Regions from separate parts of the Homo sapiens genome. Here regions 1 and 2 are each linked to region 3. The links are contacts of gene promoters, found by promoter capture Hi-C in blood cells and fetal thymus (Javierre and others, 2016). All regions are on one chromosome and are shown on one strand. Each heading gives the region's core, a stretch centred on a gene start or on the middle of the fragment in contact. The rest is flanking DNA. Distances are from core to core; before and after follow the strand shown. Region 1 overlaps PTPRO (protein tyrosine phosphatase receptor type O). Region 2 overlaps PTPRO (protein tyrosine phosphatase receptor type O). Region 3 holds the start of H4C16 (H4 histone 16).

Region 1 (4,558 bases), core at 210-2,709, 780 kb before region 3:
GAAGCCTACCCACCTCCTAGGACCCCTAACACCACACTGGTACTGCTTATCTCCCTTACCTGACCTTGTTTCCTTTCCTTATCACCTGCTAACTTAAGGGGCAGTCCTTTTACTTATATCTTTATTGTTTATTGTCTATTTCTCCCACTAGAATATGAGCTCCATGAAGGCACATATTTTTGTCTGTTTCATATACTGTCATATATGTAGCAATATTTGTAATATGAACGCATGAAGTTTCAGTGACCTACACAAATTCACGCAAGTTGGAAGTCAAGATTCGATCTCAAGGAGGCCGAGCATGGTGACTCACGCCTATAGTCCCAGCACTTTGGGAGGCTGAGGTGGGCAGATTACTTAAGGTCAGGAGTTCGAGACAAGCCTGGCCAACATGGTGAAACCCTGTGTCTACTAAAAATACAAAAATTAACTAGGCCTAGTGGTGCGTGCCTGTAATCCCAGCTATTCAGGAGACTGAGGCAGAAGAATCGCTTGAACCTGAGAAGCAGAGCTTGCAGTGAACCAAGATGGCACCATTGCACTCCAGCCTGGGCGACAGAGTGAGACTCTGTCTCAAAAAAAAAAAAAAAAAAAAAAGATTTGACCTCAAGGAGTGTAATTTCAGAGCTCTCCACTGTAGTTACAGTGCAATCCCACATCTCTTCTTATCCTTTTAAGATTATTCAAATGCCAACCTTCAAGAAGCTTATTTTCACATTCAGAATTAGTCTTTATTCTCTAGTTTCATGGCATCCTGTTTTTAATCCCCTTTATGCTACATGTCAGCTTATGCCTTTAAATATATCTATCTATTCATATATCCAGTTAGGTAAGTAAGCTCCTAGTGGACAGCTTTGATGTCTGATTTTTCTTTGGATATGCCATGTCAGGCACTGATTAGATCACTATTGGATAGATGAATTTATTTATAAATATGTGAGTGATAGAACTCTGAGACAGGAGAAGAATGTTAATTTATAATTCAGCAGGTTAATATTGGGCAAATATAAATGTTAACAAAATTTCCCAAACCAAGTAGTATTCAAATAAGCAACAGTTTTTAAGGGAATTGATAGATTATTCTGATAATACAGGGGGCCACAGAAACTACTTGAGAATGTGCTCTGATGAGCAATGCATCAGTGGTCAAAGGAACAGGGAAGAGCTGAAATCATAAATCAAAGGCTTTTCTAATTGCAAGAAAAACTAAGCTGGCTGCAACTCTGAGTAATAGGAATAAAACTAATAGAGACTGCTAATGGACCTAATCATAAACTGTACAAATATTTTCCAATAGAACAGCTTAAAATTATGGAGAGGATTTCCCGCCCCCCACCCCGTTCTTTCTTGTCATCTCCATTTTTATTAACTTTTTTCATTAACTATACTGAACTGTCATAGATATTTCTTTTATTCCAAATGTGTATGAAAGTACCCAAATGTAATGGATCTCCATATATGGGCTACTTCAAATGCCAAGATTGATAGCAAGAGGTCTGACTTTGTGTAAACAAGCAATCCTTTGCTTTCTCATTTCAATGGTAATATTTTCCAATATAATGTTTCGAAGTCTATTTAGAAAACACACACAATAGAAACAGACACTGAAAACTAAAATCCAATATACCGCTATACAACTTAGGTGTGCAAAAACAATATATATATGGCAGATAAAGATATTTTAAAGATTCCGGATAAAATATTAGTAAAACTTAACTTACCTAGCCATCTGCAGATGCTTTTTCCTAAGAATAATGAGGGTAACAAGCAACAGTCCAATTAAAAGTGTGCTAAGGATGGCCAGCACGGAGATCACTACCACATTGGGATTCATCTCTGTAACTAAAGAGATAAGTTGTGCATTTTCATCATAGGTTCTCTTACAGGGAACCAAACAGAACCATTCATTGCTTTTCATCTAGTCTTAAGGGCAGTGAGCTTACGATGATACCAATAATAGTAACAATCATGTTCCCCAAGCCAGCAATGACCTCTTCCTGGTCAACTGTAACTTAGCAAACTAGACTGATAAGTGGTATTGAGGTGTCTGGAAGAATTGAGTCCCTTTCAAAGGCCTACAACATTCAGGATATTCTTACATAGGGAAACTAAAGAATGAAGAATACCTGTGCCACAGTTTAAATTCATTTGAAAGCTAAAAATGTGGAAGTCATTACCATGCATTATCGTTTTTTAACATTTTCACAAGCTTAGAGGGTGGCAACCTCTTATTTTACGCCCATGATTTTGAAGTCAGAAAGCACAACTGTATACTTTGCTTACAACTAATAATGTATATCAAAAAGACATTAGCAAACTACCATCTGCTGAAGCACTTAACACATTACTAGAAGCAGACATTCTGATGATCCGTGGCCATATGTTTAGGGGTTTTCCATCTGCACAGCTCAAGAGATAAAACCTATTAATAGGTTGTAGGGCCCTGAAGAACAGGGGTCACGTCCTTTTCATGTACTCTATATAAAGACTTGTCTCCTGTGGCACTTACACATTGTCTACTTCTTCATACTACACGGAAGAACAGGATATCAAAGGCAGGAACATAGGTTTAATATTCTTATAAAACTCTTTAAAATGGGCCTGAGGACTCATACCATCTTTTGCATTGATCATAAAGTCACAGAATGAGCAGGTGCATCTGATCCCTAAGGTTCTGGGTATTTACCACTTCCCATTTGGGCCAGCTTGGCTCCAGTTTATGAGTAGAGTGCTTAAACAGAAAGAACAATGGACGCATGATCAGAAGAGCTTTTTCGCTTGAGTACTGCTATTTGGAGAGAAGCCATTTCATCTGCCCTATGGGCCTCATTTTCCTCATTTATAAATAAGTTTAATAATATCACCTGTTATGCTACATTGTCATGGAGCTGACAAGGAATGATGGACATTAAGGTACAGTTGACCCTTGAACAAAATGAGTTTGAACTGTGCAGGTTCACATATATATGGATTATCTTTACTCTCTGCCACCCTTGAGACAGCAAGACCAAACCCTCCTCTTCCTCCTCCTCCTCAGCCTACTCAATGTGAAGACCATGAGGAAGATCTTTATGAAGATCTGCTTCCACTTAATGAATAGTACATATATTTTCTCTTCCTTACGATTTTCTCAATAACATTTTCTTTTCTCTAGCTTACTTTATTGTAAGAATACAATATATAATAAGTATAACATACAAAAATGTGTTGATCAACTGTCTATATCATTGGTAAGACTTCAGGTCAACAGTAGCCTATGAGTAGTTAAGTTTTGAGGGAGTCAAAAATTATACATGGATTTTCAACTATGCAGAGGTTGGCACTTCTAAGTCTCTCATTATTCATCGTCAACTGTATATTTTAGAAAGTGTACAAGGATGTAGGAATGAGAGACCATTAAAATACTTTGCAGGTATATTTTTTGTCCTCTCTTCTGAAAAAACAAAAATTAAAAACAGAAAACCAAAAAGAAAAAGAAAAAAGAAAACAGTCCGCTCCAGTCATCCCTGAATTTAGCAGCTAAATATATGACTAATATTACAGAAATGGAACTAAACCAGTGAAGTTATGAGTGACTTTATTACAAGAGGCTTCATAGAGGGTCTCAGGTTGCAGAATCAGACTCTAACAAACCAGGAGTAACACATGTAATACAACTAAGAAAAGAATAAGGAAATAAACAGCATCATTCCAGACCTTTCATTAACCTCTAATTTTCCCACTTATACTTTTGGCTGGATTGGAAACTTTCTTGCTTTGACCCAGTTATCAATTATGTCATTCTCTGATCGGTGACAGATGAAGACCAAGGCTAAATAGATGAAATTGGATTGATAAGAGTACTGTGCCTATTACTGAAGAAGATGAGATGAGTTAGCAACTAGCATTTAGACAGCATATACTAAGGATTTAAGTATTTTATTTCTAAGCTTCAAAACAACTCAGAAAGTTACATATTATTATTCCAATTTTACAGATGAAAGAAAAGCTCAGAGGCACCAAATGTCTTTCTCTAACTCCATAGCTAGTAAGTGCACTTTGGGATTGAAATTAAGGACTCTCTGACTCCGAAGCTTGGGATTTCTTGGTGGAATATTGATACAAATACATATATATATATATATTCAAAAAAAGTGAGAAAATTATACACTAATGTGTATAATTACCCATTGTTGAGACGGCTATGAACGTAGGGACACTGGGGCTGTCATGGCTAAAGCTGGTGACACTACAATTGTAGGCAGTGGCAGGAAGAAGGCTGGAGATGGTCACGACATGGGAAGAAACAGCAACTGGTTCCTGGGGTTTCAGAAAATAAGGTAAATTTTAGGTTAACTTCATCTATATTTTTTAAAAATATATTTCATAGTTGAGTTGGTAATAGATTGACAGAGTAAAAAATGTATAAGATGACAAAGAATAGCATTGAAAAATGTTTCCTTTTTTCCCCATTCCCCATCTGACCAATTCCCTTCCATGGAAGCAGCATTATTCCATGTTGTCAGGCATTATTTTTCTTCCCATATGCATTTTATGGATGTATGAACATATATGACAC
Region 2 (4,780 bases), core at 1,296-3,795, 760 kb before region 3:
ACTTCCTATCCTCTTTTCCTCTTTCACTTTTCTCCATGACACTTATCACCATTTAACATTCTTATATTTATGTTTATCATCTCCTTTTCTCCATTAGAATGAGGGTTGACATTTTTGTCAGTTTTGTTCATTTCTGTATGCTCAGAACCAAGAATAGTGTGTGGCATATAGTAAATGCTAAGTAAATATTCTCTGATTCACAGGATGAATAATTTTTTAAAAAAGTATAAGACCTTAAGCATTTTATTAGCTTCTTTCTAGCTGACTGGCAGCCTACAGATTTCTATGTATCTATAACCATATTTGAGAGAGACAGAGAGAAAAAGCCTACTATCCCCCAAATACTTAACATTTCAAAGTATTTTGATTTTTTTCTTGTCCATAGCCAAATTATGTTTTAAAGATTTCTAATCTCTATAAAGGTTTGTATGAGTAAGATTAAGAAAATCAAGCCAATGTCCCTAAGACCAAATTCCAAAGAGGAACGGAAAGTCACAAAAGTGGGTATGAGGCTCCTCCCTGTTCTGTTAAATTTTTTAATAGAAAAAATGAAGTTTGAAGGAAAAAGGCCACACCCCAGTCCAGGAATAGAAGCAGCAGATGGATAAAAAGTACGAAATGACTGTTTCTGGACCAAGACCTAGCAATGTATAAAGCGTGTCACATTTCTCTAAGCGCCAGCTTGTTCAAATGAGGACATAGCACTGAATTATCTCCAAAAGCTCTCCTAGCACTAAAGTTATATGATTCCTTATCTCGAACGTGCCCGAACATGTCTGTGGTCAGGATAAAGCATAAGTTTGATGATGGTGGTGTGCAATTCTGTTTTTGTTTTGTTTTGTTTTGTTTTCTCTGACCTCCTTAGCTGTTCCTTTCCACTCTCTCTTTCTGATGCTTCCTGCTAAGCTGAATTTCTAACTGCTGGGGTGGCTCCTCTAGAGTTGATCCAGGGCTTCTCTTTTCTTCCCTGTCTTTACTTACTACTTGGTGATTTCATCCAGACACTTCCAAATTTATATTTCCAGCCCAGAATTCTCCCCTGGCCTTCACATCTGCACCGGGATATCCAATAATCATTTTAAATTTGTTTACATCCAAAGAAGAATCCTTGATTCTTACTTCACCCTAAATGTCCTCCTCCTGTAGTTTTACTAGTCATCTCAATCTCAGTGAATTGCGCCACCATTTGTCCTAGTTGCTCAAGGGTGAAGCCTGGGAGTCATTAATTTCCCTTTCCCTCACTTCGTGTTTCTGCCGTATCAGAAAGTTCTGTGGACACAACCTCCAAAAGAGCTCCTGAATTCTGTCCACTTCTCTTCATCTCCATTACAACCACCGTAGTCAAAGTTACCATCACTCTCTTGCAACTTCTTTGAATTAGAATATAATTTTTAAAGCTGGCACAAATAGCCCCTTAATTAGTTCCCCTACTTTCATTGTTGATACAATAATCCCTTTCTCATTAAGCAACCAGAGGGATTGTTTTAAATGTAAATCGGACTGTTTATTTTAAGTTCTCTAAATGGCCCTTCATTACTCTGAAGATAATATTCCAACTGCATGCCTTAAAAGATCTATACTCAGGCCTGCCTGTTCCCTCTGTCTGGCATCCTCCTTCTTGGCCTTTTTGTGGCTGGTTCTTCTTGTTATTCAGACCATAGCCTCCATGGCTTCCTCAAAGAAAGCTTTGACCACACAGTCATTCTGCACCACATTTCCCTGTTGTAGAGCACTGTACAGCACTATTACCATCTTCCCCTTCACTAGATCATAAGCTCCTTGTGAACAGAAAGTGAAAGTAGCGCTCTGGGTTCATTACCATCACGACTACCACAAGTACTCTGGCATCTGAGTAGTACTTAGAAGGTTCTTAATATATATTAGTTAAATGGATTGATGAATGGATATTCTATTACCAGAGAGCTATTTGTGATGTGTCCAACACGTCTCATTCCTGTTTTTTCTTTCCTTTCTTTTTCTTTTTTTTAAGGTTGGGAAACTGATTATCTTATGTAGACTTAACATGTCCTCTTAAAGTTGGCCCAGGGATCCAGGTTGATTCACCAAGACTAGAAGATAGTAATGACTGACTGTCAAAGGGACCTGTCACCACATACCACCAAAGTTTCGTGAAACTGCTGGCAACCTAAAATTCCTAATGGGATGGTTGGTTCAACATCCTGGGAAAAGCACCATTATTGGTGCATTTCTTTTTATGGATGTTTATTGATGATACAATGTTGAGAATTATTGGCAACTGTTTGAGGGCTCTCTACCCTTGCACATGACACATTAGATTAATTTATATGATACTGGACTCATTGGTAGTTTGGTTTCTTTCTATAGAGGTAGAACCTACCCTCCATGACACAGGAGTCATTCAGAGGCATTCTAAAGAGGCCTCTATTATAGATAAATTGAACTGCAGGTTAGCCCAACCAGTTACGGCCCCAGCTTTAACAATGGCATTCTGATTCAAACATGCTCTGAAAAATCTGTGCCAAAGTTGTATTTTTCTTTAAAGGAGAATGACTATGACTTCTATATATATCAAAATGAATGCTGGGAAGAAACATAAAACAACTAGAATGAAAGTTCTGTAAAAAACACACACAAACACACACAAAACCTGCAATTCAGGTACTACTAAAGCAAGATATTATTTCACTTCTCTGAAAGGTTAAACTTGTTCCGATTAAATATTAACTGCAATACTATGTTCAACTTTGAGGTCCGCAATTTCAATTCATTCAACAGTATCTGTTAAGCAGTTATAGGTGTTCAGGCATTGTGTTATATAAAATGGAAAGGGCTTATATACACAATAACATGATTAGTAGAACAGATCTTTTGACTAAAGGATAAAAACCAACATTATATGTTTTCAAGAAAATAAGAAAGGCACATCATAAAAAGATTGTCTTGTCTACAGAGAGGAATAAGATAGAAACAATATTCCATTTGATATTTAAGATACCAATAAGAAAAAGGTTATTGATCCTAAGGGTTACATTAACTAGAAATAATTTCCATGAAAACTCAACTTTCCTTCTTGTAAAGTTTAAATAAATTTTCCAAGCTGGTTTACATAGTCCATTCTATTATCAGGGAGACATGGAGACTCCAAACATTTTGATAAGTTTGGGAAACTATCATGGTTTTAACTCACAGTCCTATGTAGATACAGTTGTACTAGTTCATGACTTTGACTCATATTCCTGAGGCACCTTCGACCATGATGTCACATAGAAATTTCAGTGAAGTATCCAATAGGCCCACTAAATGCTACTTTGATAAGACCACCTCTGAACTTAAATTTTAAGGGAGACTGAAAAACCAAATGAGTTGGAGAAAGCTGCTAGGACCTGAGAAACACTTAATAGCTTCCTGTATTAGTAAAGCTTGGAAAAAGGAAGACATTGGGAATATGAGCTCAATCTTCAAGTAATTACAGTTACCTGGAAATGAGTTTTTGAACGGCCCTTTACACCCACAGAGGTCAGAGTCAGAGATAATGGCTGGAATTGGTAGACAGGCAACTTTTTTCTTAATAGAAAGATTATGCAAAGTTGGAAGTTGGTGCTCTCCACATTCGTAGAATTTAAGTATAGACCACAAGGGAGGAAGAGCAGATTGCCTTCAGTGCAGGAAAGGTAAGAGACAACCCTTGATCCTCAATTGGGGCACTAGTGCCCCCTTGAGGGTGTTTGAAAGTTTGGAGGAATGTTTTTATTAGTCACAGCAGAGGGAATTAGCTGTTCTTTTGTGGTCAGGACTTAGAAATGCTAGCCGTCCTGGAATTATTAAGAGGACACCAAAAGACAAATTGTCCCATGTCCCACATCCCACATGACTTTCAAATGTCATACCAGAGAAAATCCACCATAAGTGTAAATTGCAAGTACTTTGCTACATAATATTGAAAGTTTTTAAAAAGAAATTAAGTAAAATAATTTAGAAGAAAGTTGTCATGAAAAGGCATATTTAAATCCAATTAAGATAGTATTTAAAATTATAAATTATTCAATATTATAATTTTTACTTCCATAGTGTCTAATCAACACATCACATATTTCCAAATTACCTATACAATTTTAAAGTATTTCAGCACAAAAACTTAGCTTTTGTCTTGGCAAATAGGAGACAAAGAAATTTAAGACTCAGTGACCTATGCATTGAGTTCTGGAGAAATGCAATTACTGGGTAAATTGAGGAAAGATCGTATTTTTTGTTTTTTAGATTTTCTAAAATTTTTCTAAAAGTACATCACTGCCAACAATACTACCCATGGTATTTAAGCTACTAATAAAACAACCACGAATTAGTCTTTACTTACAGCTGCTAATATGAACACATGTAATAACAGAGATGGCTTGAGACTGTTATGAACAAATTCAGACACAAAAATTAGCAGACATCTTAAAAAATGATGTCACTAAATTGCATTAACTATGTGGAAAACACTTTTATTGCCATTAGATAAACTTAATTTTTGAAATATGAAAATTATAAAATCTCTGCTGTGAAAATTACATATTGAAATTATGCATTTAGTTTTGGGTTGCCACTCTTTCGGTCATACTGTCTCTAAAGGTCTATCACACAACTTTGTGTCAATCCATCCTCCATTGTCTGTGGCAGATTTTAGGATACTGTCTTCGAGTTTCCCTATAAGTATCAGAAACTAAATGTATACCGCAATAAATGGTCAATTTTTGAATGTAGAAGATGTGTTTTGTGTTACACAGTCACTTTCCAGTTGTATGCTACACAGTCACTT
Region 3 (4,798 bases), core at 152-2,651:
ATCTCCTGACCTCGTAATCCGCCCTCCTCGGCCTCCCAGAGCGCTGGGATTACAGGCGTGAGCCACCGCGCCCGGCCCCATTACAATAATTCTTATCTCTTCAAGATCTGATAGACTTTTCCTCTTCCCTCTGAGTCAAATATTAAAATCATGAGTGAAGTTCGACCATTCAGGACTTTTTCCAGCCATTCAAGACAGTGTTCCAACTCTTTTATCTTTAACAAAAAGTAAAAGAAAAATAAATACCTTTTGGGTTATGAAGATGGGCATGGATTGAAACAAATGTAAACTATAGGCATTTATAAATATAACAAAATTTTACCATAAAGTCTTCCTGCTGTAAAGGCTTATCTTCAAGACCAGGGACAAAGAAGCCCCACTTACTAAAATTCATTGCTCAGAATCCTAATTAACTACCTGGGAAAGACTTATGACTCATCCTCTAAATAACAGCTGCTTTTTAACACAGTAAAACCTTTAGAGAAGACAGGGTCCTGACACCTTTGAAGAGCGGTGACACCTTACAGAAACTTTCGTTTTTGTTCAGGGATTCTCTTGAGAAAGGAAGGGATTCAGAACCTCCTGAGGGGATTTGCAGTAGAAATCATTATTCCAAGTCATGATTGTGGCATCCATTGTTTTACAAGAACTTTGAATTTTTAAGTGGAAAATGTGAGATGAGAACCTGAGATTTGAATGACATAAGACATTGACAATATTTCAACTAAATAACCACAGGAAGTTACTTGGTTGAAAAGCACACAGGCTCTTGCAGGGCAGGAAAACCTGCAAATTGCGCAGAAGCAGCTGAAAGGGGAATGGCGGGGGTCGGGGGGAGGTGGGGGTGGAGTGTAGGTGGGGGACGGGAAGCTGCACTTTCTTTTTTCAATTGAAAGAATTTTAATTATCTGCAGGGCCGTAAAAGAGAAAAAAGTCCTCTCCCCCTACTATGTCTTCAGAAGACCCACGTGTGAAAAATTTTAAATTTTAAGTAATTGCTTTGAAATCTCGGATGTAAAGCTTTTCAGGTTTTTATAGAGTTTCATAGTAAGTCAGGAATTCCGTTTGAAAAAACAGAAGGAGGGAGGGACAGAACAAGGAACGTGCATAGGATCTGGCCTACTTTTATTTAAGCGCTGAGAAAAGGCAATATAAATTCTTTTAGCTCATACTGTTTTAACTTTAAAACGTATCACCATGAACCTTTCTCCAAACATCAGAAAAAATTTTCCCAAAAGAGCAAACAACAAAAAAATCAGGCTGGTTTCGCTGACTGCTTCCTGGACTTAACAACTATAGCATGTCTCCAGAGGTGGGGCCTAGAGCTCCGCCCACTTTTTTGATGTTTTCAAACAGGTCCGCATCGAGAGACTATAAGCCCTGGTCTGCGACTGGCAATCACAGTGGGCAGCCCGATTTTCTGCTGAGTAGGCGCTGTGATTTCAGAATGTCTGGGCGAGGTAAAGGTGGCAAGGGGCTGGGTAAGGGAGGCGCCAAGCGCCACCGGAAGGTGCTGCGGGACAATATCCAAGGCATTACAAAGCCGGCGATTCGCCGTCTCGCCCGACGTGGGGGCGTCAAGCGCATTTCTGGTCTCATCTACGAGGAGACCCGGGGAGTCCTCAAAGTCTTCCTGGAGAACGTGATCCGTGACGCGGTGACTTACACGGAGCACGCCAAGCGCAAGACCGTCACGGCCATGGATGTGGTGTACGCGCTGAAACGCCAGGGTCGCACCCTTTATGGTTTCGGCGGTTGAGCTGTCCCCACAGCTTCTCTACAGACTCCAAAAGGCCCTTTTCAGGGCCCCCAAACTGTCACAGAAAGAGCTGTTAACACTTCCTAGATAACGGGTAAATATCAACCCTTTGATGTCGCCTTCCGGATACCGGAAATGGGATATTCGCGGCCCGAGCATCTGCTCGGGATTAGACTTGGCGGGCACGGGGAGAACTAGACCTCAAGGAGGGGGTTCCGCCTGTGCTTAGGTACGACCCTGGAGGTGCCGCGCAACGCAGTAGTGACCTCCCAAAATCCAGACACCGGATTTTGTTTAGAAGAGTGCTTGTACAAAGCCCTAGTGTTAGAACTGGTCATGGTCTTCTAAGCGGCCGAGTCGTTGGCCCATAAGCACGTATCGGATGGCTTCCATGTAAATCAGGGCTTAGGTGACTTCCTGCTGGCCTTCAGGGGTGAGCGTCACGCGTCAAGGGCGGTTCGTGCGTGTGCAGGGCTTGCTAAGTCGCAGGAAATGGGAGGTCGCAGCACGCCGCTACCTGCAAGCCCGAAAGCTGAATGCAGCTCTAGTGTGGCGCGTAGTCTTACTGGGTACTATTTTACTTAATCGCTGACGTTGAGTGAGAGGTGACCAAGCTCAGATGCTGAGATTAAGGCGGCCGGGCGAAACTCGCGACACCCTGCGATTCCCTCTTAGCCAGCTGCGTAAAGTTGCCTACGCCAAGCGGGTAGCGTCCTGCTCGGCCACCTGGCGGCGGGCGTGGAGTTGGCAGGCAGGCAGTGGGGGTCACGCCGGCATGAAAGGCCAGATCACCTGCAGGTCGCCAAGTTGCCGGGAATCCCCCGCTCCGAGCAGTGTCATGCCCATCACAAATAACCCTATCGCAGCCGGGAGGTAAGCCCTGGCTTCCGAGTAAAGGCCCTGTTCAGAGCAGCCTGGGGGTCTAGAAGGGAAACGGGTGGCGGGTTAGGTTCTAATAAGTTCAGTGAGAATGTAAGAGAGACAGCTGTGGGATTACCAAGCGCGTGGTCCTACCCGGTACTCCCGGGGTGTAGTGAGGGTCTTGGAGAAAGGTGGGGCTGGTGCTACCAGTTAAGCGCACTTTCCAGTAGGCGAGGGTAGGGGGCGGAAGACCTGGTGATCAGCCTGCGTCCAGGCCGTAGGGGTCGCCCCGGCCTCCGGTAAAGCTCCGTATAACAGCCTCGCTCTACTCCTGGCTCTGTCCTTCCTAACTTCTCATTAGGCTTGGCACCCCAGGATGCGGTGTGATCCATGCCGCGTTAACTAATCTGCCCCTTCTCTACCTTTTCTTTTTTCCTTTCTTTTCGAGACCAAGTCTAGCTCTGCCACCGAGGCTGGAGTGCAGTGGCACGATCTCGCCTCCGCCTCCCGGGTTCAAGCGATTCACCTGCCTCAGCTTCCGGAGTAGCTGGGATTACAGGCCTGCGCCACCACGCCTGGCTAATTTTTGTATTTTTTTTTTTTTTGGTAGATACGGGGTTTCACCATGTTGGCCAGGCTGGTCTTGAACTCCTGGCCTCAAGTGATTCACCCGCCTCCGCCTCCCAAAGTGCTGGCATTTCAGGCGTGAGCCACCACGCTTGGTCTTGCTCTAGCTATTCTAAACATGAAGAAGTCATATAGCTTCCTTGGTGCGGTGGGCTGAAGTCACTCTAAGGGAGTTTCCCAGCCCCAGGGGTTAAAGAACTGGAGTCAAGATTGGAACCCAGCTGGCGAAGGATTCCGCACCGCTAGATCTTGACATTTGCCTCTTCTTCTGCCAGGAAGGCTCCCCTGTTCCTTTTTGCTGACGTGTCATTTCTAAGTACTTTCTCCTACTCCATAAAGACTTCAAGTGAGTACACAATACTGGTGTTAGTTTAATTTCTAAGACAGTGAGACACTCGGAGAAGTTCAATTTTCTTTAATGCAAGTGAAAAATTGAGTTACTTAAAAGAAATAGAGTCTGGCATACTTTCGTGCCCTCGATATTTGTTGCATGACCAAATGAGTGATTTTGGGTTTCACATAAATTAAGGATGAAAGTTAGGGCCCCGATGGAGGATAGAAATACTGTAGATATTTGTATGACAATTAAAACTCTTCCTTAAGTATTTAACTTATATGGAATTGTTTAAATATTTCATGGTTTTGGGGTTTTTTTTTATTTTTGTAGTGGTCTCAATTCTTTGATTAGAATAGAACTTATATTTTCCCTTGTAGCATAGTTATTTTTTTGTTTGTGTTTTGTTCTTTATAAAATATAACCTAATTATCTAAACCCAAGAAATATTTATTTTTGTCTGTGACTCTGAGTCCTATGGTATAGTAAGTACCCAGTCCTGACAGTAATCATATCTTCCAAACCAAAACTGGGTCACACGGTTCAATAACTGAACAGAATATCTCAAACTGAAAACGATCAAGATTTTCTGAAGTTTACTATTAATAGTAAAATTGCTTACTAAAAATGTTAAAGAACTTGATTTAAAACTCTGTAATGCCTCACTTAAAATGTGAATGAGGGGGGCGGGGTGGGGGTGGCTATAATGCCAGCACTTTGGGAAGGCTGAGGCAGTAGGATTGCTGGAGGCCAGGAGTTTGAGACCAGCATGGCCAACATAGTGAGACCCCATCTCTACATAAAATAAGAATTATAAAATGTAAAGTGAATGGAATGCATTGAAATTTGATCCTGTAGCAAAGTCATCCCTTTTGAATTTTGAACATTTGTTTAATGCCTCTTTTCCAAGCATATTTTGAATATTCAGAGATAAATGAGCAAGTTACTGCCATCAAGAAACTCCTATTTTTCTAGGAGAGAAAGGGGAAAGACGTGTAGTTGTACACATATGGTTTGCTCTAATAGAGTGGTATAAATCAAATGCTATTGGTATACAAAAGGACAAATTTTGTCAGCCAAGTGTATGGGTATCTTCAAAGAGCACAGGTGCCATCTGTTCTGAGCTAATGACCCATTGAAGAAGGCCACACCAAATTTGGGGGAAAAGCAGCATAAACAAATGCCAGAGTATTTTCCAGGCAGGTTGTATTTGGAGA

The links. Contacts are between HindIII fragments. The CHiCAGO score rates a contact against its expected background, and 5 or more counts as called.
Region 1: a contact is called between a fragment that was not itself captured here and the fragment with the promoter of H4C16 in region 3, in 3 of 17 cell types (non-activated CD4 T cells, M2 macrophages and naive CD4 T cells). The highest score is 9.0, in non-activated CD4 T cells.
Region 2: a fragment that was not itself captured here is called in contact with the fragment with the promoter of H4C16 in region 3 in 8 of 17 cell types (non-activated CD4 T cells, M1 macrophages, total CD4 T cells and 5 more); the score reaches 9.7 in non-activated CD4 T cells.

Annotation. Positions count from the first base shown.
Region 1 is chr12:15,548,835-15,553,392 of GRCh38, reverse strand. It overlaps PTPRO (protein tyrosine phosphatase receptor type O), which reads right to left. Exons shown (of 27, transcript NM_030667.3): 14 at 4,167-4,299; 15 at 1,722-1,842. All of the region lies in intron 1 of LOC105369672 (a long non-coding RNA gene), which reads left to right. Among named protein-coding and RNA genes, the nearest start is that of PTPRO, 230 kb to the right of the region's middle. The HindIII fragment of the contact is 1,504 bases long and covers 708-2,211 here.
Region 2 is chr12:15,531,492-15,536,271 of GRCh38, reverse strand. The region is part of intron 12 of PTPRO (protein tyrosine phosphatase receptor type O); the gene reads right to left. Among named protein-coding and RNA genes, the nearest start is that of PTPRO, 210 kb to the right of the region's middle. RefSeq lists enhancers at 110-1,309, 1,725-1,814. The HindIII fragment of the contact is 1,716 bases long and covers 1,688-3,403 here.
Region 3 is chr12:14,767,734-14,772,531 of GRCh38, reverse strand. H4C16 (H4 histone 16) reads left to right here and starts at 1,401. Exons shown (of 1, transcript NM_175054.2): 1 at 1,401-1,812. The coding sequence starts at 1,448. The coding sequence ends at 1,759. It overlaps LOC105369669, which reads left to right and starts at 1,875. Exons shown (of 3, transcript XM_047429947.1): 1 at 1,875-2,632; 2 at 3,523-3,593. The coding sequence starts at 2,379. RefSeq lists enhancers at 1,589-1,918, 1,583-2,179, 2,180-2,775. The HindIII fragment of the contact is 13,886 bases long and covers 1,023-4,798 here.